3 separate regions of the Homo sapiens genome follow, and regions 1 and 3 are each linked to region 2. Evidence: promoter capture Hi-C in 16 types of primary human blood cells and fetal thymus (Javierre and others, 2016). All regions are on one chromosome and are shown on one strand. Each heading gives the region's core, a stretch centred on a gene start or on the middle of the fragment in contact. The rest is flanking DNA. Distances are from core to core; before and after follow the strand shown.

What was found. Contacts are between HindIII fragments. The CHiCAGO score rates a contact against its expected background, and 5 or more counts as called.
Region 1: a fragment that was not itself captured here is called in contact with the fragment with the promoter of TEX30 in region 2 in 9 of 17 cell types (monocytes, fetal thymus, non-activated CD4 T cells and 6 more); the score reaches 10.0 in monocytes.
Region 3: a contact is called between a fragment that was not itself captured here and the fragment with the promoter of TEX30 in region 2, in 2 of 17 cell types (non-activated CD4 T cells and total CD4 T cells). The highest score is 9.3, in non-activated CD4 T cells.

Annotation. Positions count from the first base shown.
Region 1 is chr13:102,618,648-102,622,775 of GRCh38, forward strand. It overlaps TPP2 (tripeptidyl peptidase 2), which reads left to right. Exons shown (of 30, transcript NM_001330588.2): 5 at 75-199. Among named protein-coding and RNA genes, the nearest start is that of TPP2, 24 kb to the left of the region's middle. The HindIII fragment of the contact is 6,535 bases long and covers 1-4,128 here.
Region 2 is chr13:102,771,111-102,775,152 of GRCh38, forward strand. It overlaps TEX30 (testis expressed 30), which reads right to left and starts at 2,676. Exons shown (of 6, transcript NM_138779.5): 1 at 2,572-2,676. RefSeq lists enhancers at 2,431-3,108, 3,109-3,786 and a silencer at 2,509-2,848. The HindIII fragment of the contact is 5,388 bases long and covers 533-4,042 here.
Region 3 is chr13:102,565,965-102,570,387 of GRCh38, forward strand. No RefSeq gene overlaps it. Among named protein-coding and RNA genes, the nearest start is that of TPP2, 29 kb to the right of the region's middle. The HindIII fragment of the contact is 3,240 bases long and covers 1-2,932 here.

The DNA of each region.
Region 1 (4,128 bases), core at 1,243-3,742, 150 kb before region 2:
TCTTTGGCTGTATGTTAATACAACTTTTAGAAGGACAGAATGTACTAATGTTAATCAGTTTTCCAACTGACTAGGCAAATAAACTAATCAAGGAGGAACTTCAAAGTCAAGTGGAATTGCTAAATTCTTTTGAGAAGAAATACAGCGATCCTGGCCCTGTATATGACTGCTTGGTATGGCATGATGGCGAAGTCTGGAGGTAAACTTCGTGTATTTTATACATCTTCATTTACAAATGTTTTCTTTTCTACTCTGAAAAACATTAAATGCTCAGAGCTGCACAGAATTTTGGTTTATTCGTGATATCACTCAGCAAAATCATTTAAGGGCCAAATTGGCATCTGGGTAGTTTTGGACAAGCCCCTTGAACTTCTAGTTATAATTATTGACACTAAACCTGACTTTTATCTGATTTAAATAAACTTACTTCATTAATAATTTATTAGTATGTTGACCATCCGTATATTTGGAAATGTTTCCTCATTTGTTAATTGAGATAGTGGTGCTTACAGGGCTTTGTGAAAATTAAATTTGATGTTTCTAGATATAGTAAGCAATCAATGTACGCTGTTGCTGCTGCTGTTTCTATTACTAAAACTAATAATAATAATGCGATTTATACCAAGTTACCCATCATGTACGTTTTTTAGTTTCTTTTTTAGTGCCTTATATACTGCATATGTGCTTCTTGGAGTTGATTAGTCTGCCTTCTTGAGTTACTATCTGCATGAAAACAGGAAGACATTGTTAATACAGATATTTAGCCATATGTGTGCTTTAGGATTTCTGCAAAAAAAAAACAAACAAACAGGGACTATTTCTTAAACTTGTAGTCAAGAATTACTTGTAGTCTGCGTCCCTGCTTATACACAAAGAATTGCATCACAAGGTGGGGCACACACAGATCATGCCATGACTGCTTCCTCACTGCTCTCACAATTGTTCACCTTCACAGTGCACCCTTCTTAAAGGAGGGTTCTCCTCCCACGTGTGCAGGTACTAACTCATCTTTCATCAAAGGTGTATGCAATGTTAAGTTGAATGAGAAATTTCTGCTCAATTTGGGGATGATGGTGTTAATAAAATAACTGCACATAACTCTTTCAATCTAGATATTAAATATTAATGCACTTTTGTGTGTATTCATACATGTTGTTTTGTTGTGTGCATATGCATACACGTTTTGAAAAATTATTTTCCAGAGGCTTTATACAGAATAATAAACCTTGATACATCCACCATCTGGGGTAACATGATACAGTCACACTCAGTGATAAGCCTTAGGTGCGTTTTAGTGTGGGAAAGGAGGCAAGGTTAAATTCAAGGAAAATGCTAAATACGAAACAGAGTATATTTAGGAAAGTATATACTACAAAAGAACTTAAAGAAATACTAAAATATTAGCAGGGATTGAGTAGTGAGGCAATAGGTGGTTTCATTTAAAGTGTTTGCTCTAGGTTCTGAAAACACTGCAGATTACTTTGTCTTAGGAAAAGGAATCCGGAGTCAGGATGTCCAGGGTACCAGTGTGTGTTTCCACAAGATTTCCTTGGTCTTCAAGGTGCTTGATAAAGTGACTCACTTGTAGCAGTTTGTTGACAACTATTCTAAGGGTTTTGTTTAGAACTTTTGAGTTAGAAATGAAATTTAATCTAACATTAAGTGAAATAAAATCTGAAATCTCAGAATAACATTTTAGAACATTTTATTATAATAAATGAATATAGCATAATTATACTTTCAGGTGGTACTAGATATAATGTAACTTTTTTGCATAATACAGTATATCCTATAGGGCTTTGATCTCAGAGATCCAAAATTTTTTGAAGAGAACCTTGTAGATCCCAGGGTACATAAGGTTAATCCAGTCCTGTCTGCAGATGTTCTCATTTCACATTTCAAAAATGCCAACCATTTCTGAAGGGAGGTAAAGTGACCTATTCTTTAAGTACCGTGGGTTTTTTGTTTTGTTTTGTTTGATGACGAATGTCCAGTCTGTGCTCTCCCTGCCACATTTCTGCTAATTGTTTAGCGCGTATCTCTGCACTTAACGGGTGGCCTCAGATGACTCTGTTCTGAGCATCTGTCAGGACGCAGAGCCTCAGACTCATTGTCACTCCAAATGGAACAAAAACTGGTTGAGAGAAACAGTGTTTACAGAGGATTACATAAAGGAGAAGCTATTAGTTGATTTCTTTACAGTGGATTTTGACCTTGCTTATGTCATGTTTCCTTTTAGATTCTTGATGAAAGCTCTAGATTCTTTCCACAGAAAATTGAGAGATGTGTGAAAATGTCGAGAAATACATAAAACAAAAGCCTTTTCTCTCATCCTCCCCACTTACATGTACCCTGCTCTGTGTATGAGCCTCATTTTGATATCCTTTCTCTGTATTCTAGCTGCTACTTGAATTCAGTCAACTAGACCTTCAGAAAGTTATAACCTTGCACCACATTCATACTTGTCCTCTGTCGTGTTATTTAGAGAAGTCAGTAATAATTTATGTTTTGATGTGTTGGTTGTATTGTTGAGTCATTCCAATGATGGTGGTTATAAGAAACTGACCTGTGGAATGTGTCACTGTATTTGCTGTGAGAATGTTGTTAAGGATGATGATTTCGTTAATTCCTTAATCATGTGGCAGATGTTTATTGAGTACCTTCTTTGTACCAGGTTGACACCATAGAAGCTACTCCATGGACTCTAGATTCCATGGAAGCAAGTGTTGGGAACGTCTGAACCAGTCTAGGAAGAATCGAGAAAGATTTCCCAAAAGTATTAATAACATCTTACATTGAGACTTGAAGGATCATCACAGTAAACTAAGCAGAGAGGTAGAAAGGGTGGGGGAAAGATCCAGAGGATGTTGGAGGAACTGTGAGAAGTTTGGTGTGGCCACAGAGGATATGATGGGAGCAGGAGGTGAGGGAGGTGAGCAGATGATTATTAGGGGCATTGCTCTGGAGTTTCAATGTTAAGAGCCGTTGGAAGACATGGAAGGTTTTCAGCAGGAGTCAAATGTAGGGGCAGAGCAGGCCATCAGCTCATCAGGCAACAGCGGTAAGGAAGAGACAGTGGAAATAGGCGGACACATTATGGAGATGGGACTGTGCGGTTAGATGGGCTGGGGGAAGAACAGAGGGAGGACTTTGTAGATGACTTCCAGGATGGATGCTGGCCGATTGCATAAATTTTGGAGACAAGTGCTACTTCTGTAGCATGTGGAAGATTTGGTGACATGCATTTTACCCACTAATCTCAAGCCTGATTCTGTTTAATATGTGACTTGTTTGCTCTTTGCTTCATTTTCTCCATAAGTGTTTAGTTTCCTATACCTTCGTATATTCTATTATTTGAAATTACATCAGTCATATTAGGGCAATGCATAAAAACAAATTTTTAAGAATCCTTTTTTCCAAAGTGTTGTAATTTGTTAATGAAATATGCTTCAGTATTTATGATAAATCATCTCTCTGTGCTCTACCAGTAGGCTTCTATTAATTTACTTGGCAATTTTGACTGACTTGCATAGCTTGTTAAAATACAGTTCTTGCATTTAAAACATACTTAGAGCTAAAAACATAATATTGAACTTTTAATGATGTTCATTTCATTTATGACTTTTTGAATATTAAGTGTATTTTGTTTTAATCAGGCTATCTTCTAAAGTGTTCGGAATATAATTTAAAAACTATTTTAGTTAGTAAAATGGAAAAAACATGAAGGAAGACAACCATAAAGTAATGTAGAAAATGCCTTCTGTGAGAAATAAATTTAAGTCTGTTATAACTATAGGACTGAAGCTCAGTAAAATTCACCTAGTTTCAAAGAGCTTGTGTAAGCCGTTAGATTCTTGAAGCCATTACTAAAAGAAGCAGCTGGAAGTTAGACCTAGGCCATGTGTCTGAACTATCCTAAACTGCTCTAAAACTCTAAGCCAAGTTTTAGCTGTAATTCTTAAGAGTCCAGGTGGTTTTTAACCTAGAGTTTTGTGAAGGAGGGTATTTTTAAAGCACTTTGTGCATGATTTAAGAACTGGTTGCTGTAAGCTATCTTACCTAATCCTTACTGCCCACTCTAAGAAACAGGCTAAACCAGGCAGTCATTATATTTATATTTGTTGTGGT
Region 2 (4,042 bases), core at 1,426-3,925:
TCTTACTTATCCTTCCACATAGCACTGTACTTATTTTCACACGATGTAAGTGTATTTATAAGATAAATTCCTGGGGAAGGAATCGCTGTGTCAAAGGGTTTGTTCATAATTTTTTACAGAATTTTTTCATAGAACTTCCCAAGGTGAATACATTTCATTTTTGAATAGGTATCATGTGCACACGGTACATTAAAAAAATGTAAACAGAAGTCAAAGTATTTGTTCATAATTTACAGAATATGTTTTTCATAGATCTTCCTGAGGTGAAGAATACATTTCATTTTTGAATAGGTATCGTGTGTACATGGTACATTTTAAAAGACAATGTAAACAGAAGTTTCCACACACTCTTCCCCCAACCACCAAGTTCCTTTCACTTCCTAGAAACCACCATAAGCAACTTATTATGTACCTTTCCCCATCTGTGTGTGTGAGCGTGTAGAATTCTCTTATTTCAGCCTGGAGAGCATTAGTCTGATCTGACTGCAAAAGTTTTGGAAGTTGAGTGAGACAAAGGAGATGAAAGACTTCAAGCTTCAGTGTCCCTATCTTCATACATGCAGCCCCACAATTATGCCTGGGTTTCTCAGTTCAAAGATCCTCTGTTTTACTTTCTCAAGAGAATAAGCCTCCATCCAGTCTTCTAACAAGGGGAAAGGCAGTCACCCAACAGGTGAAATGGGGAAGGGGATCTGGATATCCAATTGCTTCTCAGATTTCACCTAAATCATCTTTCTTTAAGCTCCTTACACCCACCTTCTGCACCACACCACCTTCATTCCCAGTACCACCGCTGTCCAGTGCTGCCAGTTTCCGTGCAGTTTGAAGATTCTGTGGTTAATACAGGGTTTGCTAAGCCATACATGTTTTGGAGCCCGCTATTTGATTGCCAGCGTTTCCTTTCCTATTCTCCCATTGCTGGAGGTTCATGTTTGTTTTTAAATAGCCTTAATGTAAGTTTAGTGAAACTTCATGAAGGAGTAAATTTAGATGCATGTAAACAACCACTATCTTAATTTAGAATGCTTCCCTATTTTTTTTTTTTTTGAGACAGGTTCTCGCTCCGGCGGACAGGCCGGAAAATTGAGTGGCGCAATCATAAGCTCACTGAATCCTCGAACTCCTGAGCTCAAGCGATCCTCTCGCCTCAGCCTCTTGAGTAGGTGGGACTACAGACGCTCACCACCACGCCCGCTTATTATTTTTAAATGTTTTTGTAGAGACGAGGGTCTCCCTATGTTTCGCAGGCTGGTCTTGAACTCCCGGGCTCAAGCGATACCCCCTGCCTTGGCCTCCCAAACCGTTGGGATCCCAAGGCGTTTGCCACCTCTCCCGGTCTGCTTTACTTCTTTTCAGACTTCACGATGCACAGTGTGTTCTTCACGGCAGCTGCACACATGCTGGTTTTCTTCAGAAACACGGAAAATGCCCCATAATGCAATCCCCAAGCAACCTGCTCTAGGTCATCTGGGTTTGTTTTTTTGAGACAGAGTCTTGCTCTGTCCCCCAGGCAGGAGTGCAGCGGCGCGATCTCGGCTCACTGCAGCCTCTGCCTCCCGGGTTCAAGAGATTCTCCAGCCTCAGCCTCCCGAGTAGCTGAGATTACAGGCGTCCGCCACCGCGCCCAGCTAATTTTAGTAGAGACGGGGTTTCACCATGTTGGCCAGGCTGGTTTTGAACTCCTGACCTCAGGTGATCCACCCGCCTCGGCCTCCCATGGTGCTGGGGTCAGGCGTGAGCCACCGTGCCAGGCCACTGTCGTCTGGGTTTTCATCTCTGGCTTCAGGTTCAGAGAGGGCAGGGTTTGAAGCCTGGCCCGGCCTCAGTGCCCTCAATGGCGATGGTGAAGATGACCGGCTAGAGGTGCTGCGCCCACGAAACGCCAGCTCTAGTGGCGTCCGGAGCGCCGGCTCCACCGGCTAGGCGGTCGGCGGAGTTCTAGGACGACAACTACTCACAAGGGCTGGGCGATCACCTCCCACGCCACGGGACGGAGACGCCACAGCCCCTTCAACTTTCAGTTACAAACGTTCGTGCCCTGTTACGTCCACAGCATTAAGCTGGCTGTCGTGGGGCAAACAAAAACGTTGAGTCCGAGTCTTACGGGGGGTCGGGTCAACAACCCCAGCAAACATGGAGAGAAAATTCAAAGCGGGTCTCACGGGCGTGCGGGGCTCGGCGGCGCTCGGGGCACGGGATCCGTTCTCTCCGCAAATGCGCGCTGCCGGGGCTGCGCCGCGGGCTGCCCCGGTCGACCCCTCTCAACTCCGAGGCTACTTCGAGCCAGTCACCCGGGACTGGCTGACGTGGTCCAGGTTGGCCCCGTCCGGCTCTCCCCGCCCGTACCAACCCCACATTCCGCCCTCCTACCCGGCAAAGCGGACGAAGCCCCCACCGGCTGGTGCCCGCGGGCACCGAACTTAGCGGAACGCCTCCCGGCTCGGACCAGACGCCCCTGAGGAGTGACGCCCGCGAGCCTCAAACGTCTCAGGCGGGCCTGCCGGGTGCTCTCCCCGTCTCCCAGGAAGCCGCCCGTCAGCCGGCGGCGCCAACCGCCACCGCCGCACTTACCCGGGAAGGCAAAAGTGGCCGCGGGCACCCAACCGCCGTCACTCCCTTCAGGGAGCTGACTAGCGCGCTCGAAGCGACCGCCTCGCCTGCCCCGCCACAGCGTTCGGCTACGACGCACGCGCGCGCAGGCCACGCCCCCCGGGTGCGCGGGCCGGGCCGCAGAGCACGCCGGGAGCGTGGGTCTCCCAGCCCGCCACATCCCAGGGCTGTACGCGCGGACTAGCGGAGCTAGGGGAAGGTGCCAGGGTGGCCGCCGCCTCAGTAGCACGCGGACGGCTGGAAAGTCAGCCCCCGTTTCCGCCTCACCCAGGATTGCTCCACTCGGGGCCTTTCCGCATCCCAGCCACCACTCCATTCCGAGGCGCGATCAGCTCTGACCAGTCTTCCTCACACCCATAGTCGATTCGTTACTCCCGTTAAGGTCAAACGCTGACAGAAACCAGCCGCTTCGCACACTTCTACATGGGGTCAAGCCCCCTGTTATCTTTGCGGGGATGATTGTAACAATCACTTAAATGGTCGCTTCGTACCATCTTGCCCCCGCCTGGGCCTTGTCGGCGACGCCGCAGCCACGTGGATGCTGTGGAAGCCTGTCCCCTGGATCTTCCAAAGGCTCCGCGCTCATTGCCACAGCCAGCGGCCGGCAGTGGCCTAGGCTGTTGCACGCGATCGGTCCCCCACATCTCCCCTCTCCATCTGGCTCCTTTCCCTGGAAGCCCAGGGCAGCCCACACTTCGCTGTCCTCACCCCCACTCACCAGGCGGGACCCCACGACGACCGGCTTTTGTCCTGGCTGCTCCCTCCCAGCGTGGGCCGCGTCTCCTCGGGGTCGACAGGGCGCGTGGTTTTCACAGCGAGGCCTCCCCTGATCACCTCCCCGCTCTTCCTGTCCTTCCCCGGTCACCTCACGAGCTATGGATGTATCTGTGTCTCCTCACTGCGCTATAAGCTCCCAGGTGAAGAAAGGGTTGCTTTTTGTAAATTTTTGTTTTAACCGTGAACCTCTTGTGTATGAATAATGCTCAGAAAAAAAAAAATTTCTTAAATGAATGAATCTTCCCCAAGCCCAGTGCAGTTGGCACCTGCCCTCTTTTCTGTCACGGTACATACAAGGAAATACATTCCACAAAACCACATAGTCGCTGTCATTTATCACAAGTGTTTCCCCAAATTACAAAGTCTTAATACTTCTTTGTCTCCTAATTTTTTAGCTGTGTTTTTAAAAAACATTTCTTTACATGCCATAAAATTCACTCATTTGAAGTGTACCATTCAATCATTTTCAGTAATTTTAAAACCATTTGCAACCATCACTATAATTTAAGAACATTTCCATTATCCCCCTGAAAAGTATTTGCACAGTTATAGTTGAGGTAGGAGATCAGCAGGACTTTCCAAGCACTGATCACCACCTGCTGAGCAAAACAGGATCTGGTCAGAACAGGATGCCCTAAAAAAACGGCCAAAACTG
Region 3 (4,423 bases), core at 63-2,562, 210 kb before region 2:
TGGGAGGATGAAGCCAACCACAGATACCCCGAAAGGGTGAAGCTATGGAAATAAATACCCTGGCCTTCCTGTCTTATCTCCATCCCATCTCTGCCAGGGCCTCCCATTTACTAGGAGCTAGGATGGAAGGAAACCCATTGACGAGAAAAGTCATTCTCTCAGAGCACAGAGAAGGATGAAGAAGGACAGAAAGTGGACCTGGAGTGGTAAATGGAAAATATCCAGTGCATCTTGGTCCCTCGGTTTAAAAGTAGTCTTTTTTTCACCTACGCCCTTATTTTCCCTAGCCCCCAGCATGACTGTGATGTCCCACTCTGGTTGACCTGACAATGAGCTGGCTTAAGCAAGTAGCATAAACATCCTCTTCTCCCCGTGGAAGAGCCTTTCCCAATCTCATCTTCCCATAGTTCTGGTGGCCTCATTCCCCCAGGTCCCCAAAGTCACCAGGTTCTGAGCAGCTTGTTTCCTCAGAAAACTCCTATCTTCAGTTGGCACCCAAATCGAGACTGTCTGGTTTTCAAACTGATGCTGTGTTCCCTACTGATGCGTTAACTCTTGCACCATAAGAAAGGGGACTCCACTGAAATTCAACCCCTGTTTTGTGTCCAGCAGACTTGAGAACATTTCTCTCCAGATAAAGCAGGTGGGGAGGGGGATCCATGACTTCTCTTCATGACTCTGCCTTGTTTTTCCTTTCTCTTTAAAGCCTACTTCACAGTACTTGGCATTAATCCCTGACATGTGACCCTGGTGCCCTGTGTGGGCCACCATCCAGCCCAGCAGGGAAGAACACAAAAAACAGCCACTTTGCAAGCTGTAGGTCACCTTACTGTAAATGTCAAAAAGAAAGTAGGCTCATGTCCTCCTTAATCTCTACACTTCACGGGTATACATAAAGCAAATACAAAGGGTAGTGAATATGCCTCCTTACAAAAGAGACTTTTTGTAACAGATGTTGAAAGAAAATTTAGAATACTAATTTCTGTAATTCTTAACTGAAAATTGTAAACAATATGTATATGTCATAATTAACATGAAAGTAAATCTCATTCAATTTAGCAAATATCCTTTTAGCTCCTATTATGCACTTTGAGTTTTGGTAAGAACAAGAGAAACAAAAGATGGGGCTGAGAATTTAATGAAAATAAAATTGGCATCATTCATATGACAATAATAGTAATAACAAAAATTAACTTTCTACATCATGACCATATGGACTGATACTATTCCTGTAGCCAAAAATCTATGATGCCTCTTCCCAGTGCTTCCCCTTCCTTCGAGTAGCTGGCCTGCTAGCCCCATGGCTAGAATGGCAGCTCCATTCTCTCACTGACCCCAAATCTCTGGCCACAGTTGATTTATACAGGCTTGACTTCCTGAGCTAAGCTGTTTCAATGGGATTTCCTTGGAATTTTTGACCATCTGACCCAGAAATCCAAATTAACCCCTCTCTGGCATTAAAATTAAAAAAAAAGACTTTTGAATTGATTATGGAGAAAGAAAAGGGCAGTCTTTTATTAGTGAAACCATGACATGTAAAAGTCAAGAATTCACTGGACACGTGTCCCGTCATGTGCAGAAAGCGCATGAAATAAGGAGGAAGGAAGCCCACCTACTGAGTGGACACATAGAGTCAAGACCTGGGCAAAAGGCCCTGGTGATACTTGCTTCGCTGGTTCCATCAGTTCTCTGACTCTGCTCTATCTCTTCCCTGATAGAGTTTTGGAAGGTCAATACTTCCTAAGCTCTGAGGATACCCTCTGAGGCTGACAGCTCTCACCTAATCAGGTGAAAGCCGCTGCATCTTTAATAAATCTCCTAAGTAACACAGCCTTGTTGCACACACTTCAGTAAACAGAGGCATGTCCTGAGGTGTCTTGCCATAATGGTGACACCCCCAAGGTGGCAGGGAAATCAGGAATGGTCCGAGGCACCACTGGCCGCAATAGCTGCTCATGCCGTAGTGCAGCTCCTCCAGCACACTGACCTCCCTCTCCCAGCTTCTTCCACAGGCTCCAGTGCTGCTTCCCCTTGTCTGGGAGGCACTCTCTCTCCCCCACCGATGACTGCTTTCTAGCCCTGAGCACTTACTTTCTGCTGTCCATGGTCCCCACATCTCAACCCTCATCAGTATGACCACTCACCTGGTGTTGAGAGAACACAGCTGCCCAGTGGAGGGAATTGTAACTGCCCTAAATCCAGCAGAAACACAAAAAGGCATGAAATCACCTACCAAATTATGAAATGTGAGTTCAGTTTTATGTCAGTGTATAAAAGTAATAAATATTCTCATGATGGCAAACAAGATTGGAGGACTACCAGGGCTGTCTTGGAGAAAGACCTTCTACTATGAAGATATCTATTATTCCGACACTGCTAATACTTTAGTCACCATGTATACCTATAATGTCACCGGGTTCATGCACATTCTTCTTGTCACATCAGCATACACTCTCATCTATCACTAAACTCCAGCATCACTGCTATCAATTAAGGAGTGAATTCTAGTGTGTCACTAAAGCATTAAAACGTGACTTGTGGCTGGGTGTGGTGGCTCATGCCTGTAATCCCAGCACTTTGGGAGGCCGAGGCAGGTAGATCACTTGAGGCCAGGAGTTCGAGACCAACCTAGCCAACATGGTGAAATCCTGTCTCTACTAAAAATACAAAATTTAGCTGGGCGTGGTGCCACACACCTGTAATCCCAGCTACTCAGGAGGCTAAGGCATGAGAATCTCTTGAACCCAGGAGGCGGAGGCTGCAGTGAGCCAAGATCATGCCACTACACTCCAGCCTGGGCAACAGAGAGAGACTCCATCTCAATAAAATAAAATAATTAAAAAAAAACATAACTTGTTAATGCACCCATATCATAGAAGTTGTAGCTATCCTAACTAAATAAGTGATTTCATTACTTTAGGGAGGGATGAGAAGCTTAAATTATTATTGTTTTGAAGTAAACTTTCATCTTATTGTTTAAAATCACCTATGAAAGTCCTCCTTTTGGCTTAAATTTTGTTAAATGGCAATTTTTGGCTTAGGATGACAAGTGATTTTTCTACTAAACTAATATATCCATGTGTCATTATGATTTTTATCTCAGGAGTCTTTCCAAACATTAAGAAACTCTTCTTTATGATCACCTTATATTATAATTAAAACAGTTACTGGCCGGGCACAGTGACTCACACCTGTAATCCCAGCACTTTAGGAGGCCGAGGCGGGTGGATCACCTGAGGTCAGGAGTTCAAGACCAGCCTGGGCAACATGGTGAAACTCCATCTCTACTAAAAATACAAAAATTAGCTGGGTTCAGTGGCACGTGCCTGTAATCCCAGCTACTTGGGAGGCTAAGGCAGGAGAATCGCTTGAGCCCGGGAGGCGGAGGTTGCAGTGAGCCGAGATTGTGCCATTGCACTTCAGCCTGGGCGACAGAGTGAGACTCTGTCTAAGAAAAAAAAAAACTGTTATCATTTCTTACTAGCAGAAACTTGTCCTTACCTTAGCATTTAGGTCAAATGCAATGTGTAAAGTCCCTGGATTATCCAGAAATAGATTATAAATGAAATCACTTCTCTAAAAGAGAAAAAGCAAGAAACATCTACTTTGGAGTGTACACTGCTGCAATAAGCTGATTTAATGCCAAAGTGGAGACATTTTTAGCATGCTTTCCCAACTGAGGCCAAACAGATGCCTTCTCATTTGAGGGGGTGTCACAGGGAATCGTTTGAGCAGTCATCACATATGTATGCTCAACAGAATTCAGCAAAAACAATTGGGAAATTGCAGTCTGGTAAGAAATTTATGATTAGCTCATTTCTTTAGGTATATTCATACTAGGAAAGACAGGACTGCTTGCTTGTTTTCACTGAATTTCCATTTCTCCAGCCAGAATGGTGAGCTGTAAAGATGACATTGATAATGAAAGTCCTAGAAACCATTAACCATAAACATTTATGGAGTACCTATTCTGCCCAAGGCAGTTTGCTCAGAAAATCTGAGAATCTACTGTATCAAAGATGTTTTAACAACATGCAGCAGCTATTACTACAGTCCATGCCTTGCCTAATAGCAAAGAAGACAGTCTTTACTGTGCTGACATCTGCCCTGGAAGGCATGTCTCTGAGTATGGCTGCACTCCTTAATTCTCAACTAAGGACCTCTGCATCCTGGGGAATTCAGTTAAATGGTCCAGTGTGGGGGAGAAGGAGGGCAATCCCTCAGCAAGGAGGAGTTGTGAAAGATGGAAAAGACACAGGACCTGTGGGTGACAGTCTATCTAATAAGGATCATGTACAACGGTGACACGTGCCAATCTCATTGCATGGTAGTCACATGATTCAAGAACCTTTTTGTTCCAGCTGTTCCTGACAGCTGTTCTCCTCCCTCTCGCTCAGCACGAAGTTCCTGAAGCACCCAGATG